Regions from separate parts of the Homo sapiens genome. Here regions 1, 2, 4, 5, 6 and 7 are each linked to region 3. The links are contacts of gene promoters, found by promoter capture Hi-C in blood cells and fetal thymus (Javierre and others, 2016). All regions are on one chromosome and are shown on one strand. Each heading gives the region's core, a stretch centred on a gene start or on the middle of the fragment in contact. The rest is flanking DNA. Distances are from core to core; before and after follow the strand shown. Region 1 has its middle 1.8 kb from the start of RHOB. Region 2 has its middle 12 kb from the start of OSR1. Region 3 holds the start of TTC32 (tetratricopeptide repeat domain 32). Region 4 holds the start of LOC105373465 (a long non-coding RNA gene). Region 5 overlaps HS1BP3 (HCLS1 binding protein 3). Region 6 overlaps GDF7 (growth differentiation factor 7). Region 7 has its middle 16 kb from the start of MIR4757.

Region 1 (2,828 bases), core at 47-2,546, 540 kb before region 3:
CGACTCCCATTCAGAATTGCCCCTCTTCCTGGCAAACTCCCGGCGGGTGGTCGGGCCTGTGGGGGAGGGGCAGCTCTTTTAACGTGGTTTTGTTTTTAAATAAACAGACACACACACACACACACACACACACACACCCCACACACACACTTTTGTTCCCAAACAAGAGTGTTTTCTCTTTTCTTTTGGAGGTGGCCCCTCCTGTGGTTTAGGGCCCCACCCGGGTACTCGCCGTGGGCCAGCCTCGGGTTTGGACCCGAGAGGCGACCGGCTGGCTGCAAACTGGCTCTTCCAAGTCCCGCCGCCCCTACCCTTCCCAACCCCCAGCTTAGGTCTCTAGGTGAAGATTAAGGGAAGAGGTGCGGAGTGGCCCAAGCTTGACAACGGAAAGGGAAGGTCGAGGCTCGAACACTTGGAGGAAGTTACCGGACAGGAAGAAGCCCCTTCGGCCCCTCTTTTCACTATGAACTCTGATCCCGGTTCTTAAAACAGAGAACTGTCTGAGATAAATTGTACAATAGAATATACACTATTGTACAATAGAATGTACAATAGAATATACACTATTGTACAATAGAATGTACAATAGAATATACACTATTGTACAATAGAATGTACAATAGAATATACACTTGTACAATAGAATGTACAATAGAATATACACTATTGTACAATAGAATGTACAATAGAATATACACTATTGTACAATAGAATGTACAATAGAATATACACTATTGTACAATAGAATGTACAATAGAATATACACTATTGTACAATAGAATGTACAATAGAATATACACTATTGTACAATAGAACGTACAATATTCCGGGTTCAATAGAATCCAACCACCCCAAGACCCCTGAGCAGACGAAAAGGCTTGAGGCTGGAGAAGAGGGGAGGAGTAAGGGGCTAGCAAATGGGGCACAGCGGGTTAGGGGGTGTCCCCTCTATTGGGGCGTAGCCTCCTGATGCACGCCAGGACTGAACTCATTTATCCTGTAGATCCTGCATGAAATGACAGTACCGGTGATCCGGAAAGACCCAAGTCAACCGATTTCTACGGATAAAAGAGGAAGAAGGGGATAGGGGGAAAGGGGAGTCGGGGAGGGCTCCCGGGCAGGAGAAACAGCCTGAACACAAGCAGGAAGGTGGGAAGGAGCGGGGCAAACTCTAGGAGCTGCATATGCTGGGGCTCATGAGTGCTAAAGTATTAACAGCATGGGCTGGGCTCTGTCTATCCATTGCATGGGAAATGTCTGCAAACTGTTTTTTCAGCAAAGGAGGGACCCACCACATGACCGGGAGGTGGTTGCCTCCTGTCTCCGTCTCTGTCTCGGTCTCTGTCAGTTGTTGGAGGGCCAGGATTCTGTCTTATCTCCGCATCTTGAAGACCCAGCACAATGCCTGGCATTTACAAGGATCAGTAAATGACTGTGGGGAATTAACCCGAATGCTCAGAAACGCAGGTGGAATTTTCTGGGGGTTTCTTACCTCAGTTCCACACTTCGCTTTAACAATTATCTAACCAGGCCGGGCACAGTACCTCATGCCTGTGATCCCTGGGCGTGGGAGGCCCAGGCTGGAGAATTGTTTGAGCTCAGGAGTTCAAGACCAGCCTGGGTAACATGACAAAACCCCGTCCCTGTCCCTGAGAAAAATAAAATGGGATGGCGTGGGGAGGAGAGTGGCCTGCACCTATAATCTCAACTACTCAGGAGGCTGAGGTGGGAGGATTGCTTGAGCCCAGGAGGGCAAGGCTGCAGTGAGCTATGATCACAACACCCCACTCCAGCCTGGGTGACAGAATGAGACCCTGGCTCAAAAGAAAAAAAAAAAGTAAACATTAAAAAGAAAATCATTAAGCAAACCCATGCAGCCAACTGTGACTGAACCCCGGTGTTTTCACATGTAATTCATATGTTAAGAGCTAGGTCCCCATATGGCTCCACAGATGAAATCAGATCAAATAAGGCAGTAGTGCTGCTAAGCCTAGAGCCCTTCCTAGAGGGAACGTCTTATTTAGACGACTGGAAGTGCTGTGCTTCCCTCAGACTGGATTCACATCACTACAACAACCGGCCAACCAGCTTTTTTTTGTTGTTGTTGGCCGGGGCGGTGGGGGGCGGGGGTTTGTTTTTCAGATCTAAGGAACTGATCTGTCAGCAAGTAAATAGTTTTTCTGTTCATTGATTTAAGGATGCAATCTGGAAGCTTTTTTTTTTTCCTATTAGAAAAGTCTTATTTACACAAATTTTTCTTCTTTTAGTCAAAACCTTTTATAGCTGTATTGTTAACGCCGCTTTCCTTGGTCTTAATATAGCTTGGGAAACTTGGCTATGTCCTTAAACTTCAAATACCAAGAAATATGAAACAAAGCTTTGTACCATGTGTTTTTTTCTTTAAAAAACAAAGAATCCGGAAAACGGATTGAACTCCTTCGTGTTCTGATTTCCAGGAATATTATATGAGGTGTTCCAAGCTCAAATCTCAATATTGCAATAATTTCTAAAACTATGCAGTTGGTAAAAATGCCAAAGTAAACAAATAGATCTGTGTTCTGCAGTAACTTCTTTAGTAACTTCTTTTCATGGTATTTTTTTTTTTTTAGTCCAGGATACTTTGACAAGCTCTGCAGAGACTGGCTGCTTCCAAGACTGCCCCACACACAGGATAAACTTTTCCCAACTAGGTGATATGCCGGACAAGCCCCTCCCTGTCCCTTGCCCTTCATAATACACTTCCTCAGACAGGGATAAAATTTGATTCTTCTATGAGAACAAGTCATTTTATTTTATTTTATTTTTTGAGACAGAGTCCTACTCTGTCA
Region 2 (2,700 bases), core at 114-2,613, 530 kb after region 3:
AAGCTTCTGAAGGATGATTCAGGAAGGATGAGTAGTGTGAAGGGGTAGGAATGCTCTGAACTGAGGAAATAATGTGAACCAAAGTACAGAAGTGGAAATGATCCTGGTATGTTCGTGAACTTGGGGGATACGTAAGGGAACAGGAGGCGGATGGACATAAATGGACTAAAAAAAAGAGGCTTGGAATTATTGGAGTAAAAAGAAAGATTGATGAGTGCTGCAAGGGATTCAAAGAAAAAGCACAAACAGTTCTACAAAGGAACTGAGCAGTTGGTCAAATTAACAAGTTAAAGATGCATTTACAGTTATAATAAATACAAGACCCCCTTGTAAAAGATACCAAGCCCAATAAGAAAGTGGTAAAGTGCCAAAGTGAGTTGGAGAATTACATGAAATAGGCTTATAAGAGGGAGAAGACACTAGCTGGGGAGAGAGTTCCAGGAGGCAATGGTATTTCAGCAGATGGGAGGATAAGGTATAAATAGGTAGAAGAGAAGGAGCATGTCATCCCAGGCAAAGAGAACATCCCGAAGTACCTTTAGGTTTAGTCACTTTAGGATCGCATAGGAAGAAAGACCTTAGTGTAACAAAAAACTTGCAGAATGAAAACTAAGGTCTCTGTATATAAAACATTCTAAGTGGGAGAAATTTCTTCCCTAGAAGGTCAGGTTGGGAAGCAACTATAAAGAGAACAACTCATGGATAATGTGTAGATTTACAAGAAAGACAGGATGGGCAATGCTTTTGTAGCTTCAGTACTCAGCTGTGTTCAAGAAGTTTCCTCTTTTTAAACAATCAATAGGAACACTCTGTTCCTAGGTAGAGAATACAAGTATGGTTCTAAATCAAAGAGAATTTATAGAAATCTGCAGTAAGGAGTCTAATATGTCAGGTGCTTAAAGTTCTTCAACCATGGCCTGTTAAAGGGAACAACTATAACTAAACGACTTTACAATTTATCACAGAAACCAGGACAATTGCGTCTGGGACAAAAACAAGACAAGATCCTAGGAAAGCCAGTGTGAATGAGGATCGTCTAGGAAAACTGGCACTCTTGATCTGTGTATCAGTTGGGGTCCAGTCAGGACAACAGAAACCACACTAGGCATTTCAACAGAGAGAATTTAATATAGAAGATGGGTTAAACTGGTCCAAGAAAGCAAACTGGGAGCACTAGGGAAAGGGTGGGGAAACAAAGGCAAAGATTGTGGGTGTCAGCATCTAGAAGCTCAGAGGACGAACCCTGTAGGACTGGGCTCAGCCCTCTGAGGAGGCAGCACATCCTTGCTGCTTCTGGGTGGCTCAGGAAGTCTATAGGAAGTCCATGGAGTAGAGGTTCAGCTCTCTGAGGACAGTTATTGCCCCACTGGGGAGGGCACCTTCCTAGGGCATGATGAGATTGGTTCTGGGAGTGCTGAAAGAAGTTGAAGATTGGAACCAACTGGCGATGCTAAGTGAAAGTCCATCGCTAGAGGCCAACCCCTGGTTGCTGCTCCCATGCCCCTATTTGCAAAATCTAAGAGAAAGTCATCTGACAGAGGAAAACTTTAGCCTGCAGATCCCAGCCCTGGTGTCACACAGCAGAGCGTAGAAATGTGGACTTGGAACTGAGCAACACTGGCGTAATAATGGGCACAGTTGTTCTTATTGTACTTGCAGCACCAGGCTTGAGAACGGTTCTGATTTTGAGGAGGAAATTCTCCTAAAAGATCCTTCAGCTCAATAAGTGATAAAAATCACAGTCTAGTCTGCAGAAGAAAATAGGATTTATCAGTTATTCCCTTTGTGCCACGAACTTTACAAACGTTAGTTCATTAATCACAATAATCCCATAGAACTTGTGTTCATCCTGTTTTTACAGATGAGGAAACTGAAGTTTCAGGTGGTTAAGCTGTTTGCCCAAAAACAAGTAGCTGGGGAGAGGCATGTTCTAGAGACATGGACTAGAAGCCTGTCTCTTTCCACCACCTCTTGGTCTTTCTAGGGAGGAAGCTGCTTCTTTACAGGGCTGAGGCCCATGATCCTGGATGGAGGGGCAATGGCTGGACCACTCCTGGAGGCCCTGGGCCAAGTGACCTCTGCTGGCCACTGGTTTCTGGAAAGCTCATCCCCAAAAGGTTTTCCATCCTTTGAGTTCACACCTAGCCAGACTCAAAACCTAAAGTGATTTATTCCCACTAAATGCTGGCCTCACACCCATGGGAAGAAGCCAAGACTTTGTTTGAATGAGCTCGCCATCTCTTGGAGAAAGCATCACGCTGCAGCCACCCATAGCTATGTTTTGGAGAGAGTGTGTTTGTGTGTCTGTTCATGTATTCATGTGTCTTATAAATTCAACCTTACTCAGTAGGATGGCATTCTTGGATAATAGACCTTTCAGCCAGAGGGCCAAAATTGCAAAGACAACAGTTATTTTTTGGCTGAATCAAGTTCTTCAGCCTTAGCTGAAGACGAAGGCAAATTGTGCCTGTGTTTTCTGGAAATGCTGATGCTGAGATGGGACCTTATTGAGGAATTCACCAAGGCCCAAGGGAACTGAGAAGATAAATGCTACCAGGCGGCTGCAACTTGAGCAAAATTCAAAAACAATAGAATGTCAACTGAAGATCATAGAGACTGTGGCAAGTATGACAGAAAGCAAGGGCAATGGCTAGGTCCTGAGACCAATGAGGATGTGGATAATGGGTGCTGGCACTACAA
Region 3 (2,700 bases), core at 18-2,517:
CCTTTGCTGTTGCTTCCCCCAACACACTTGGTTTTGTTCTATCCTGTACTTCAGATTTGTTTTTTGTTTTGTTTTTTTCATATTGAAAAGATGACATTGCTCCAAGAGGCAAAAATAAATGGGAACTGAAAAAAAAAAGCTTTTTATCTTATTTATTTAATCTTTTAATTCACCTGGAATGAATATTATGTCAATTGGGAGCTTAAATGCTTAAATGTATTTTTCCCCAAATGGTTAACTAATCCTCCCAATAGCACTCATTTGAATAATCTGTCCTTTCCCCATATATGTTACATGTCTTTTACAAAATACAGCCTATTTGAGGTATGTTTCTGGGCTTTTGTTCTATTGAGCTGTCCATTTGCTTACACCAGAAATGCCAGTTTATTTTTTTGTAGTCTTGCAATCTTTTAATTTCTACTAGTGCTTTTTAATTTAACCTTAATCCACTGTATTTGTATTTTTTTCAGTGGTGGTAAAAGGAAAAAATTAAAAATCTAATGAAAGCAGCCAAAAGCACACAATTTATGTCCTGTTAAGACTTCCGCATGTAAGTATCATGCTCCAAATATATTTTTCATCTTTACTTTTTATGACGGAAAGGGCTCAAGTACTTTGGGAAGCAAAACAGAATCGAGGGACGCCGAGAAGATACACAGCAGGCATGTAGGGTAGCGTGGTTGGCAACTGTTCTTACAAAATTTTAATTTGAATTATACGTAATGTACGTAATAAATTACTATTTGGATTTCCCTTTGGCATAAACAGCCAGGGAATATAACTAACATCAAAGATCCCAGACTCTCGACACAATATACTACTAATCGTAACACAATTCTAGAGGGTCAAAAAAGGTAGAGAAGTTTGGACCGTGGAACAGACCTGGTGGAATGTCGACACAAAGCGTTTCAGGGTAGACAAAGCCTACTCAGAACACCCTAAACGCGGAGTTTTGCTAAGTTGGGACGCTAAAAGGCAAGGGAATGACAGGACGTCCGCAGGCTAATTCGCCATTAAGAAACAGAACCGCGGCTTCTTCCACCTCCAGCGTCATCGGCCCCCAATTCGCTGTAACAAACGGATAGTGTCTCGCAGCATCAGACAACGGACTTGGAAATCAGTTTGCGACCACGCATCTGCGCCTTTTCTAGGAAAAGAGGAAGGCGGGTCCAACACTGGTAACGGCAGAAACATAGTTCACAAGGGCCACTGCAAACGCCCCGCCAGCAGCGGAACCGTTATCTCGCGAGACGACGGATCCCCATAAGGCACAAACCTAGCGCCAAGGTTGGCTGTCAAGGTAGATTCCAGGGTGTGGAAGTGGCTTTGTGGTGCCACCTCTAACCGCTCGGAGGTCAACCCCCATTCTACACCGAAAACTAGGCCTTGGCTGCTATGGAAGGACAGCGGCAAGAAAGCCACGCAACCCTAACACTCGCCCAGGCTCATTTCAACAATGGAGAGTACGCGGAGGCCGAGGCACTGTACTCCGCTTACATTCGCCGGTGCGCTTGCGCGGCCTCCAGCGACGAGAGTCCCGGGAGGTAACTATCGCGAGACCTGGGGCCGCGGCGACCCCGGGTGGAGGCGACGTTGGGGTTGTTTGGGCTCCTATCTTTGCCTCTGGAGCTCACGGTCGGCGCTTGTCATAACCCAGCACTAGGACTGAGCGGGCGGACGTTCGTCTTTCTAGAAAGGCCTAGGCGAGGCCTAGGACGAGGGCGGCGGAGAACGCGGGGAGAAGCCCACCCGTGAGGAGCCAGCTGCCGCGACGGTGCGGAGAGATTTCCGGGAACCAAGCCCTCTGCGCGATCCTCGGGCGCGGGCCGCCGCCTCTCACCCCGCCGTCTCTCCTTCCACGTTCCTCATTCGCACCCAGAGACTTAGGACAGATAGGAATTTTCCACTCGTGATTTTAGCTGGCGGGAAATCCGCGACCTGGGAAGGGAAGGGGTCACGGCTGCGTAGGGCCACAGTACCGCGACTCCCATCTCAGTGTCACGGCGCAGGCTCTTGGTGGTGTTTTTCACTTGTGAAAAACGTTTAAATATGTGGAAGAGAGCATAACGAACGTCTAGGTGTTTATCACTTGGCTTAAGCATTATCAGTTTACCTATTGTATTCATCCATGGATGTTTCAGAAGGAACCACCATGTCATCATCACATAGTTACTTAATATCAAGTCGTCAGTGTTGGAACCATTCTGATCGACTAATAAGGTGTTTTGTTCTTTGGTTCCCTTTTCGCAGTTAGTTCAAGTCAGGATACACATCAAGTCTTTTTAAGTCTCTTCTCCACCTTCCCCTCTTTATTTGTTGAGGAAACCGATTCTTGTGTCCTTTGAATTTCCGTGTTTTGGACTTGCTGACTGAATCTCTTCTGTCGTTTAATGTGGTCATCTGTCTCATATTGCTGTGAATTGGTGGTTAAACCTTGAGGTTTGATCCAATTGAATTCAGATTCAATATCATGGCAAGAATACTTTTTAGGTGGGTGTGTGTACTTTCACCAGGAAGCACATAACGATTCGCTGACTTTCTCTTTGTGATGTGAGCGGCTTCACCTGTTACTGTCTGCTTGCCCAAAGCATCTTTTCGGCTTGTGCCTGGATGTGTAGCATTTGTTTTTACTCCAAGTCTTGCCTCGACTGGGCTTGTTGATGGTATGGAGTGGATCAGGATGAGAAAAGAACAGAGGGG
Region 4 (2,700 bases), core at 182-2,681, 520 kb before region 3:
ATTGGATGGCGCCCACCCACACTGGGGAGGACAATTTTTATTCAGCCTGACATTTCAAATGTTAACATCAGCCAGATGTGGTGGCTCACGCCTATGATCCTAGCACTTTGGAAGGCTGAGGAGGCAGGCTGCCTGAGGCCAGGAGTTCAAGACCAGCCTGGGTAACATGGTGAAACCCTTCTCTACTAAAAATACAAAAAATTAGCTGAGCATGGTAGTGTGTGTCTGTAGTCCCAGCTACTCAGCAGGCTGAAGCGCGAGAATCGCTTGAACCTGGGAAGTGGAGGTTGCAGTGAGCTGTCTTTAAAAAAAAAAAAAAGTTAACATCATGTTAACATCATCCAGAAACATCTTCACAGAGACACCTAGAATAACATTTGGCCAGATATCCAGGCACCCCATCGCCCAGTCAGGTTGACTCATAAAATTAATTATCACGGATGCTGCTGCTGCTGCTGCTGCTGCTGCTGTGTGACCAAACTTTGAAAATCACTGCTTGGGAGTGTCTGCCTCTCTTTGAGGTGGGGTTAAATCATTATCTCCCCATCTCACAACCTACAGGGGGAACACCTATGATCACAGGACAGGAGTCACAGCAGGATAGACACAGCCAGCCACAGTGGCCAAGCTTGACTGGCTGGCAGACTGTTGGGGGCATAGAGTCTTCGGCTGAGTGGCTGGAATCCTGTGTTGCTCATCATCAGATCCCAAAAGACACTTCATCTCCCTGGGCTCCAGCTTCATTTAGGATCCGCAGATAATACACAGGAACTACTAACACTAAAACATTATTTGCTATTTATCTGAAATTCAAATTTAACCTGCATCCTTTTTCTCTTTTTTCTTTCTTCTTCTTTTTTTTTGCTAAATTTGGCAACAGGGCAGGCCACTGCTGCTGTCATTAGAAAGACTCATTTCAGCCCAGGCAAGGGGAGGAGAGCAAACCCAGAGATGGTAACCTGCTCCCCTGAACCAGAGGAAGCAGAGACCTTCTCACAAGGACCAGGCGAGGGATGTGAGTCGGCCTGAAGGGAGGGTGGGAGATGTCCGGGCTCACTTAACCACAGAAGGGTGGACCTCTCAGACCAACACTGACACCAGCAGTAAACAGGAAATGCCCTCCAACCGCAGGCCTCCTGCTCTTCCTGCCAGGGTCGAGAAGATTCTAATCCAGATTCAGAAGAGGAGCTGACTGGCCTCTGGCAAGCCCAAGCTGGATTACCAGCTGCGGAGGCAGAGGTGCCTGAGGTTTCCCAGCCCCCAGGCCAGAGGAGGCTGCTACACCCACTTCCCCCACGAAGCTGGGGCCCAGGCCAGAGAGAGAGCCCCAAAGCTGGTTTGGGGGCGGGGAGCTTCCCTACAGGCCCTGGAGGTACCAGGAGTGGGTGAGGTGCGGGGTGGGTGGCCTCCACAGTCCGGGTACACAGTTTGTCTGGGAGATTTCCTGGTTGCTGGTATGGGGGGGAGGTGTTCTTGTAGCTGCTGCAGGAACCTCTCCCTGTGAGCTCCATGGATGGGAAGTCGGGGTGTGGAGTGTGTAGTACTAGAATCTGCCATCTCCAGCTCTGTGCCTGTTTCCCCCAGCCCCATAGGCCCCAAGACAAAGCAAGAGGAATGAGAGGAAGCACAGCCGGGTCAAAGCTCCGAGCCACGAGTACTGAGGCAGGTGGTGGTACCCAGACCCCCTCTCCATAGCTCCCATGAGAGCACAAGGCGGAGGAGAGGACAGACTCCTGGCCTGAGGGGCCAAGCACCAGCTTCTCAGCCAGCTCTGCCACTGACTTGCTGCTTGGCAAGTCACTTAACTGTTCCAAGCCTCAGTTTTCACTTCTGGAAATGGGGATATGACCCCCTGCCTGCCCCCTCATGCTGGCATAAGAATCAATGACCTGTGACAGGACTTTGTAAATTATAAGTTGGTATTAGTTAGGCCTCTTTAGTCACAAATGTGAGAAACTGACATTAAATGAGGCAATGCAAAAGGGGGATTCACCAGCTCAGAGGCCCAAGACCCAGGGCAGGGAGAGGAGGCGCTGTCATTCCCTCTCACCCCTGCATCTCTCTGCAAGTCAGTCTCTTCTTCCGCAAGCCTGGAGCCAACTTCACCTCCTAAGAGGAGCTTCTCTGCTCTGTCACTACCAACTTGAACAACCACAGGGAGGGCCCTGAATTGTGTCACATGTCCACCCATGGCTGTGAGACACTATCTTATGCAGCTTCTTCTGGAAGCTTCTTATTTTGATTGTTGGCATCAGCATTATAAGTTTGCCACATTTTCCTGATTCCTATCCTCCTTGGACAAAATAACATAGGGGCTAAGGGCACAGGCTCTGGAACCCAGATTACCTGGATTCAAGTTCTGGTTCTGCCATTTTCTCACTGTGTAACGTTGGGCAAGTCGCTTAACTTCTCTGCACCTCAGTTCATAAATCTGTGAAAACTAAATGAGTTGATACATGGGAAGTATGAACAATTGTGCCTGGTGCCGGCCAGGGGTTCAACAAATGTTAATCATTATTATTGTCGGAGAATGAAGGGGCAGTGCCTGGGAATCCCAGGATGAGAGACAGCCTGAAGAAAAACCATCCTGCTCCACCTACTCCTCAACCTTCTTCCGGGGAGAGCTGACAACTGCAGGAGCTATGGCTCAACAAAGATGTACAGAGCTATGCAGTAAGCCCTGAGAATTACAAAACTTGA
Region 5 (2,700 bases), core at 160-2,659, 740 kb before region 3:
GGGGCATGTGGAGTGTGAAGTGTCTGCCCTGTGGATGGATACATGAGGCTGGAGCTCGGGACGAGCTCAGGCCTGAGATGTAGGCTTGGGAGTCATCAACTTGGAGGTGATATTAAAAATCTGGGAGTGGATCAAGTTGCCCAGAGAACAGAAGTGGAAGGCAGAGAGAAGGGCTGAGGAGGAAATCCTGAGGATGCCAGGGGTTCAGGGACTCTTGGGGAGAAGGAGGAGTCTGCAGTTGAGGCAGAGAGGAGAGAACTGGGTGGGTATCTACGGAGTCAGAGGAGCTAAGGGAGGAGAGAATTTCAAGAGGGTTGAGATCACACACTCATTGGCTTATTATTTACCATTTGGCCTCTTGTGAAAAGGACCTGCAGCTGGAGACCAAGAGACACAGGTCCAGGATTATTAGGACAAAGGTGAAATGAACTAGACCCCGAAGTACAGCAGGGAGTGACACGGGGCTAGCTTGGAGTCTCCTGGCAACCAAGATAAAAAGGGAAACGATGAGTTGCATCTTTCTGGTGACCTGTTGAAAGAGACACTAAATTTTAAGAGAAATTTACAGCACAAATGTTTCCTTTTTTTAAGAGATAGGATCTCCCTCTGTTCCCCAGACTGGAGTGCAGTAGTGTGATCATAGCTCAGTGCAGCCTGGAACTCCTGGGCTCAAGCAATCCTCCTGCCTCAGCCTCCTAAGTATCTAGGACTACAGGCACACACCACCATGCCCAGCTTTTTCTTTTTTAATTTTTTTGGTAGACATAGTGTCTTGTTATGTTGTCCAGGCTGGTCTCAAACTCCTCAAGCTGGGCTTAAGCAATCCTCCTGCCTCAGCCTCCCAAAGTGCTGGGATTACAGGTGTGAACCCCCACGCCCAGCCACACAATTTTAAGGGACATTCAACAACGTCATGAGAAGCGTCTAGAATAGCAATGCTGTTTTTCATTTGATTGCTCCTGTGGCCGACTCTTGGTGAGAAGCAACGTGTGATGTCAGGGGTGATTCTGGGCCTGCATTGCTCTGAGAGTGAATCTGCTTTACAGGGTGCTTTGCAGCTCCTGGTAATTTGACTTGATCCAGGTTGGAGCTCAATGCACCCACATTTTCAGAGACAGGAGCAGAAGAGGAGAGTATTTGAGCTTGATGTTGCGGGGCATGAAGGAGGGAGCATTCTGGGAAGCTTGGGCTTCAGCCGCCCAGCCCACTTGGTTCTGTGCAGAGGGCCGGCCTTACATGCAAGGTGTACATGAGGGTGTTTTAACACCTCCATGAATCACACTAGTGCCACTTTTTCCTAGGCAGTGACGCCCACTCCTCGTGGAGTGTGTGCGTGCAGGGGCTTGTCAGACATTTGAAAGTACTTGCGAGGGCAAAGAACTCCTTTACTCCCCATGGGATCTCAGGATGGAGCCTAAAGTTACATACCCCCAAGCCTGAAGTCTCTTTGATGTTTCATGAATTAACTCAAAGAATTAATGAGCATTTTGTATCTACTTAAAAGGGCATATGTGTTTTAATATAAACGTGTACTGATTTGCTGACCATGGAGTAAAACAGCCGCAGGAGGGGGCACCGCAGTGGAGGTTGTGCAGGCTCTTGGATGTGCTAGCAGTGCAGACACCCACAAGCTTACTAACGTTACAGGGCTGTCTGCCCCGTGCTCAGCAGTGCCTGGCACACGGGGGCACCAGATAAATGTGAGTTCTCAACCTTGAGCTTCCTCTGCTCAGGGTCTCTTACTTGGCCTCCTCTTGTTGCTGGTGCAGATGCCCACCCAAGAAGCCCTGCCTGAACCCCTGATGGACGTGGGCCCTGGGTGGGGTGGGAGCCCAGGCCTACAGCTCCGGAGTACTCACGATGCCAGTGCCCTGGAGATGGAGGTTCCCCGAGCCTGGATATGCTGGGTCTGTGGTCTGAGCCTGAGGGGAGCAGTCGGGCCAGCAGGGGGCGCCCGGCCCCCACCGTGGCCTGCTCTGCGGGCCGGGCTGGAGTCACAGCTGCTGTCGGAGCCTGTGTTAGCAATCGCTCTGGGAAGGGGTCCGTGTGCCTTTCCCTGAGGGCTGTTTTCAGGAAAGTCTGGAGCCAGGCTCTTGTGCTGACAACTGCAAGCAGCACCTGTCCCAGGTGACTCCCCACTGGAGGTTCTGAAATCCCCCCAGCTGCCTCCTGGTATCTTGACCCTTCACAGGCTGGGCATTCTGGGTGGTGTTGCTGGAGCCAAGGATGTGTGTTCCAGACACACCCTGCACCAAGGGATCTCCCCGAGCCCGAGGGCGTCAGATGCCCGCAGCCCCTGCACGCCAGCACTCCAGTGGCACACTGTGGGCACAGTCCGGGCCTGGGAGCATAAGAGTGAGTGACCCACACTTCAGTCGGGGGAGACAGGCCCAGTCTATGGGGAAAGCACAGAGGAGCGAGGAGTGAGGGTAGGTGCCAGGATGATGGTGTGTGCATACAGCAGGTGATAGAGGAGCTAGGAGTGAGGGTAGGTGCCAGGCCGATGGTGTGTGTATACAGCAGGTGACTTCGCTGAGCACCCACATGGTTACAGACACGGCGATGGCACTGAAACCACTGTGAGACTGAGAGCCTGCTGGGGTGTCTCTGTACAGAGTGAACATGCAGCAAGAGCTCCGTGAGTGAAGGGGTGAAGGCTTAGCTGCCCAGGAGCTGTGGGGAGAGGCCAAGGAGGCAGCG
Region 6 (2,764 bases), core at 1-2,500, 770 kb before region 3:
CGGCAACTTCTAGGCCCTCAGTCACCCCTCTGATTCACTAGGCCAACTTTCAGCCCTCTCCCTGCAGTCTGTGTCCACCAGGTGTCTCCTCAGGCTAGGACGGTGGCCCTCCTGAAAAAAACAGGCTTCTTTCACAACAGCCTCACTCAGTTACTATTTGTGACGCACTAAGCTGTGCACACAGATTAAAGTCCAGAACAGCACAGAGGGAGGAAGACAGCTGTGCTGCAGCCTACATGGTCAGGAGGTTCCAGGTACAAGATGCCAAGCTGTCTGAAAACTTAGAAATAAACATCTTTTTGGGTCCTCCCTTCTGGTGCTTCTTTATGTTAACTTCTCCAGACCACAAAAAGGAAGAGAGAGACAAGCTCTTCTGATGCTACCCCAGGGTCACTCCCCTGGGAAGCTGCAAGGGGACCTCAGAGCCAGACATGGGCATGGTGGTGAGGAGGGGGTGAGGACCCAAGGAGTCCATTCTGGGACAGTCCTGCCTGCCTCATCCAGGGCTTCTGGGACAGTCCCAGGCCCCCGTTTGGGTGACCAACCAGGCACAGCCTTGCCTTTACCCTTCTGCCTGCAGAGGCCCCAGCAGCAGGTAGAGCCCTTCCCAGCACTAGGTCTCTCAGACAGTCTCAGCTTGAGTGTGGCTCCGCCCACCCCACTGAGCACAGGAGGAACTGCAGCTGGATGGGCAGTGCCCTCAGCCAGCTCCTGGCTCTGGGGAGCTGAACCCCACCCTCAAGGTGCGGGCCCTCCCCACACCTACCTCAGCCCAGGGGAATTCAAAGCACATCCATGAGGCACCTATTAAGGATAGGAGTAAAATGGACACACGCACACACATGCACATGCACAGGCAAGAGCTGCGAAACCGGTAAGATGAGGCTCTGGGACTGGGATTGGGAGAGGACCTTCTCCAGGAGCCATCACATTTGCTCTGCCTTCAAGCTATCTGAGTGGGTTTTGAGGCAAGGTAAAATCCTAGAACCTTGGAACTGGAAAGGGCATCATTTTACAGGGCAGAAGATGAAGCTCCAGCAGGGAGGTGACTGCCCATAACTTGCCTCAGACGTCTCTCAGGAGACGCCTTGTGGTGCCCTGGCCCCTGAGCGGCCTCCCCTGGCGGGCGCAGTCCGTGCTGTGGGAGCAGCTGCCTCTGGGCACTCGGAAGCCCACAGTGGGCTCTGACTCTGGTGCAGCTCAAATATACCATCCACCAGAGGGATCTAGTTACTTTCCACTCACCCAAAGTTTGGCTGCTGGGTTCGCTCGGCAGCTTCCTCTCTTCCCTTCCCAATCCAGACACTTTCTGAGGGGTAAGCGCAGGCCCAAACTCCCTCTGCTAGACTGCTGCTTTCAGAGCCTCGCTCCCTCCAGCTCACTGCGCGATCTGACTCAGACCTCTTGGCCTATGGCCCACTGAGGGCCAGTGGGAGGCCTGTCTCACTGAGATGACAGGTTCTCATGAGAATCAGCGAGGCCCAGTGATTCTGTGCCCCCAGAGGCAGCCTCAGGACACTCTCTTCCTGCCACTGGATTTCCTGGAGACCAGATTCAAGCACAGGAAAAGTCTGACCTTATCTGTGCACGAGCTGCTCTTGGAAAGAACGTAATTTTTCTCCCTGCTCTAAGAAGAAAATCAGTCTACAAATCCTGGTTGTTTTCTGCTGTGAGTTTAAATGAAATTGCCAACAGCATATACAATGTGTAGGGATTGAATTACACTCCCTCCTGTTCCATCCACGGGATTATCGGTACTCTCTTCAGTACCCAAGGTGAGGCGCCCACTCCTGCCGACACCATGAGAGCTGCCAGGGAGAAGTGACTGTCCTTGGCTTCGTGGAGTCTGGATTCTTCTATCACACAATCCACACCTCATATCGTTGCCAGGAGGGTATGGTGAAGGGGAGCATGGATACAATGACTGAGCACAGCTCAAGCCTGGCTTCCCCAAGCTAACACAGCAAAGCCTGCCACCTTCTCTGGAAGACCCAGTGCGGCTGTTTGGAAAGTCAGAATTCAACAAGGCAAGTGTGTTTGGGAATCAGTGGAAATGCCCGCCTGCCAGTGTGGGTGATCCTCCTTAATACGAAAGCCCTGGTTTCAAGCAGCAGTGACCAGGCTATCATTGTGTTTGACAGACCCAGCACCAGCCCCCGTTGGGCCCCAGCTGGCCTGTCCCGAGCTCCCTAAGTAGGGATGCCAAATCCTACTCACTAGCAGGAAATCCTGGTTCAAGTGATGTCAACTAGTAGTGCACAATTCTCCCTACAAAATGGAAAATTCTGTTTACTTTAGGAGGGAGACTTTGGTGACCTCAGGTTGGGGTTGAGGGGACAGCCTTTCCTCACAGTCTTGACATGCTTTCTCCCTGCCTGTCAGTTCTCCCATCCATGGTGACTGGAGATTCCAGCTGGGGGTTGCAACAGAGAAGCTGGGTTCATGCCAGTCACCCAGGCCTGTCCCCCGCTACCTAGAAGACAGAGAGCTCAGGGTGCTACTACCAACTGTGCTGGCAGAACGCTTTTCTCCACACCTTGGCAATGCTAGTTAAACCACATCTTAGCAGCAAAAAGCCGTCTGCCCCACATGTGTTGGCCCTTTGTTGTCATTTTTACAAGTGAAATGGATCCTCTGCATTCACCTAGTGAATGGACTGAGATGCCAGAGGGCTGGGCAGAGTGGCCCCTGGGGGCTTCACCTGCTCCAGAGGAAATCTGGGAAGCATTCCTTTTATCCAGTAAACAAAGAGCACACTGAGGGT
Region 7 (2,700 bases), core at 117-2,616, 570 kb after region 3:
CACCTGTAATCTCAGCTACTCAGGAGGCTGAAGCAGGAGAATTGCTTGAACCCAGGAGATGGAGGCTGCAGTGAGCCGAGAGATCACTCCACTGTACTCCAGCCTGGGAGATAGAGTGAGACTCTGTCTCAAAAAACAAAAAACAAAACAAAAAAAACTTCCATTCAACTATCAAAATCAAAATCAGAAAATTAACACTGATATATTACTGCCATCTAACCTGCAGATCTCATTCAAGTTTCACCAATTTGCCTAACAATGGCTTTTATAGAAAAAGGATCCAAGTCATGATCTTATATTGCATTCAGTTGTCATGTGTCTTTAGTCTCCTTCAGTCTCAACTTGTTTCTTAGTCTTTCCATGACTTTCATAATCACAACAATTTTGAAGATGATAGGCTGATTATATGGTAAAATGTCCCACCTTTGGGACTGTGTAATAAGTCCTCATGATTAGATTTGGAGAAGTGATGCTGTGCTTTTTTGGGGTATGGTAAGGTTAAGAATCATTATACAATAGCTACAAATTGTTGAACACATACTATATAAAATACACTTCACTAGGCACTTCACATATTTTAGCTCTTATAATCCACACAAGCACACTAAAAAGTGAGTATTATTGTTCTTATTTTATAGATGAGGAATCTGAAGCTAAGAGAAGTTAAGTGATTTGTCTAATGTCACTTAGTAAGCTGCAGAACTGAGCCCAGGTCTCAGGCCTGTGTCCCTCCCAGCCTGTGCCTTGTGCCCTGCACCGTGCTGCCAAGTTGACTCCTATCTTGAACCTGCCTGGGGAATGTCAACATGGGCATCACACAAGAACACAGGAAATCCCACTTTCGTAAATATTCTCCAGACTCAACACTTACTAGTTGTATGGCTTGGACAACTAAGTTAATTTTCCTTGGCTTCATTCATTCATTCATCGACTTAATGATTACTTCTTGAGCACTTAGACACAGGCAGTGTTCTAGGCCCTGGAATTACAGCAACGTAAGACAAAGTCCTTGTGGAATCTGTCTTCTAGGATAGCTCTAGTTTCACTATTTGTAAAATGGGGTAATTAAAATATATGCATAATTGAATTGTGAAGAATAAATAAAATCATTCATGTAATGAGCTTAGCCCAGTGAAGATACATCATAATTTAATGTGTCAGCTATTATGTAAAGATCATGAACAGTGAGAAGCCGATCCAACTCTTGACTCAGTGACAGTGCTCTGAGATAAGGAGGGAGATATAGGATGGGGGAGGCCTGCAGCCTAGGAAGCACACTTTTTCCAGATCTGGGATCAAAGCACAAAGCTGGAAGATAATGATCTCAATGAGGACATTGGCAAGGCCTCCCAAAAAGCAGAGCCTAGAGGACACACATCAACACCAATTACTTGTTCAGCATGTGCTTCTCTGCTCTGATTGCCCAGAGCTGTGGCCAAGGATTCCACATTGCATAGCAAAAAACAAACAAACAAAAAACAAACGGTGAGGACTAAAGGCAATGTAACACAAGTTGGAGTGTGTGGAGAGCATTGCTGTTTTTAAATTTTGGTTTTCTTAAATGGCTCACTGTCTTAGATGCCTATCTTAAATTCCCACACCTTAACATGTGGTATTAACTCCAACAGAAAACATGCAACCAGCCAAAAGCCAACATAGTTTAAGAAATTTAATATTTTATATGCATCACATTTTAGAAAACTGTTTTTTTTTATTTTTGTGGAGGAATGGGGTAACCACCACTGGACATTTTACTTTGCCTCAGGGATACAGTTCTGAAACTTGGAGTTTATACCATAACTTGGCTAATCTGCTCAGATTCAGCATCTGTAACTCCTTTAAGTGGCATTTAGTATTATGACAGGAAATCTTTACTGTTTTTCTATTATGAAGAAACATTAGTAGACTGTATTGTAATATGTGTTCAAATTGGGTTACCGTCTCTGATGAACTGCAGAAGAAATGGAAACAGATAGTGAGTGGAACAGGGATGCTGGTGCAATCAATCCCCAATCTCACAGCACGCACCTTGGGGCCCACAGACTGAGGGTCACATCTTCCTAGAGTTTCCTGAGATGGAGAAAATGATTTCTTTCTCTCAGTTGGTGCAATGCTTACATGGGACAATGTGTGCAATTAACCTGGCACACAGTAGTTATTCAGCAAAAATAATTTCCATTGTTATCTCCTGTTTTATGAATTCAGCTTTCTTCAGAATTTTAAAAAAAGCAGTTATAAATTAAACCACATTGGTTTCTTATTCATAGCTGGAGGGCCTGGCACATAGAAGGTGTGATCATGGGAGTCTGTGGGATGAATTATTTGTGGTGCTTGATGGAAAAGTGTTTCCTGGCCAACTCCCTTATTGGCAGCAGCAGGGGGTAGGTTTGGTGGTTCTGTGATGTCTCCCAACTCTGGAGCTGTGCACACAGACAGGCTAGACTCTTCCTGGCTAAGGCTCATGGGAGAGTTATTCTTGTTTCAGTTTGGGCAAAAATTCTATGCACATGCTCTGCCTTTAAATTCACTTTTCAGATACTTGGCTTCATTCTATGTGCCTGAAACTTTACCAGAATTTAGGAATTCAGGGAAGAATTAGACACCTTTAGGTAGTCAATAATTAGGTACCAGGGAAACTTATGTGCACAGATACACCCATGCATACATCAACATATGCATGTGTGTGTATGTGTGTGTGTG

Evidence for each region. The method cuts DNA at HindIII sites, captures the fragments that hold promoters and counts their contacts. A CHiCAGO score of 5 or more calls a contact.
Region 1: a fragment that was not itself captured here is called in contact with the fragment with the promoter of TTC32 in region 3 in 1 of 17 cell types (total CD8 T cells); the score reaches 5.5 in total CD8 T cells.
Region 2: a fragment that was not itself captured here is called in contact with the fragment with the promoter of TTC32 in region 3 in 7 of 17 cell types (total CD8 T cells, naive CD8 T cells, neutrophils and 4 more); the score reaches 8.0 in total CD8 T cells.
Region 4: a contact is called between a fragment that was not itself captured here and the fragment with the promoter of TTC32 in region 3, in 1 of 17 cell types (total B cells). The highest score is 5.5, in total B cells.
Region 5: a contact is called between a fragment that was not itself captured here and the fragment with the promoter of TTC32 in region 3, in 1 of 17 cell types (total CD8 T cells). The highest score is 6.7, in total CD8 T cells.
Region 6: a contact is called between a fragment that was not itself captured here and the fragment with the promoter of TTC32 in region 3, in 1 of 17 cell types (total B cells). The highest score is 7.6, in total B cells.
Region 7: a contact is called between a fragment that was not itself captured here and the fragment with the promoter of TTC32 in region 3, in 2 of 17 cell types (naive CD8 T cells and fetal thymus). The highest score is 7.0, in naive CD8 T cells.

The regions. Positions count from the first base shown.
Region 1 is chr2:20,443,893-20,446,720 of GRCh38, reverse strand. No RefSeq gene overlaps it. Among named protein-coding and RNA genes, the nearest start is that of RHOB, 1.8 kb to the left of the region's middle. The HindIII fragment of the contact is 1,836 bases long and covers 379-2,214 here.
Region 2 is chr2:19,369,087-19,371,786 of GRCh38, reverse strand. No RefSeq gene overlaps it. Among named protein-coding and RNA genes, the nearest start is that of OSR1, 12 kb to the right of the region's middle. RefSeq lists a silencer at 2,065-2,359. The HindIII fragment of the contact is 2,715 bases long and covers 6-2,700 here.
Region 3 is chr2:19,900,550-19,903,249 of GRCh38, reverse strand. It overlaps TTC32 (tetratricopeptide repeat domain 32), which reads left to right and starts at 1,267. Exons shown (of 3, transcript NM_001008237.3): 1 at 1,267-1,544. The coding sequence starts at 1,396. RefSeq lists enhancers at 915-1,154, 544-1,424, 1,605-1,704, 1,785-1,844, 1,985-2,174 and 1 more. The HindIII fragment of the contact is 3,134 bases long and covers 142-2,700 here.
Region 4 is chr2:20,423,424-20,426,123 of GRCh38, reverse strand. It overlaps LOC105373465 (a long non-coding RNA gene), which reads left to right and starts at 1,179. Exons shown (of 5, transcript XR_001739317.2): 1 at 1,179-1,372; 2 at 1,585-2,700. RefSeq lists enhancers at 1,015-1,064, 1,125-1,284. The HindIII fragment of the contact is 1,601 bases long and covers 631-2,231 here.
Region 5 is chr2:20,641,823-20,644,522 of GRCh38, reverse strand. The region is part of intron 2 of HS1BP3 (HCLS1 binding protein 3); the gene reads left to right. Among named protein-coding and RNA genes, the nearest start is that of HS1BP3, 7.9 kb to the left of the region's middle. RefSeq lists an enhancer at 1,713-1,842. The HindIII fragment of the contact is 448 bases long and covers 1,186-1,633 here.
Region 6 is chr2:20,673,861-20,676,624 of GRCh38, reverse strand. GDF7 (growth differentiation factor 7) reads right to left here. Exons shown (of 2, transcript NM_182828.4): 2 at 1-2,764. Among named protein-coding and RNA genes, the nearest start is that of GDF7, 8.1 kb to the right of the region's middle. RefSeq lists enhancers at 221-320, 331-390, 781-900. The HindIII fragment of the contact is 3,834 bases long and covers 1-2,764 here.
Region 7 is chr2:19,331,333-19,334,032 of GRCh38, reverse strand. No RefSeq gene overlaps it. Among named protein-coding and RNA genes, the nearest start is that of MIR4757, 16 kb to the left of the region's middle. The HindIII fragment of the contact is 9,961 bases long and covers 1-2,700 here.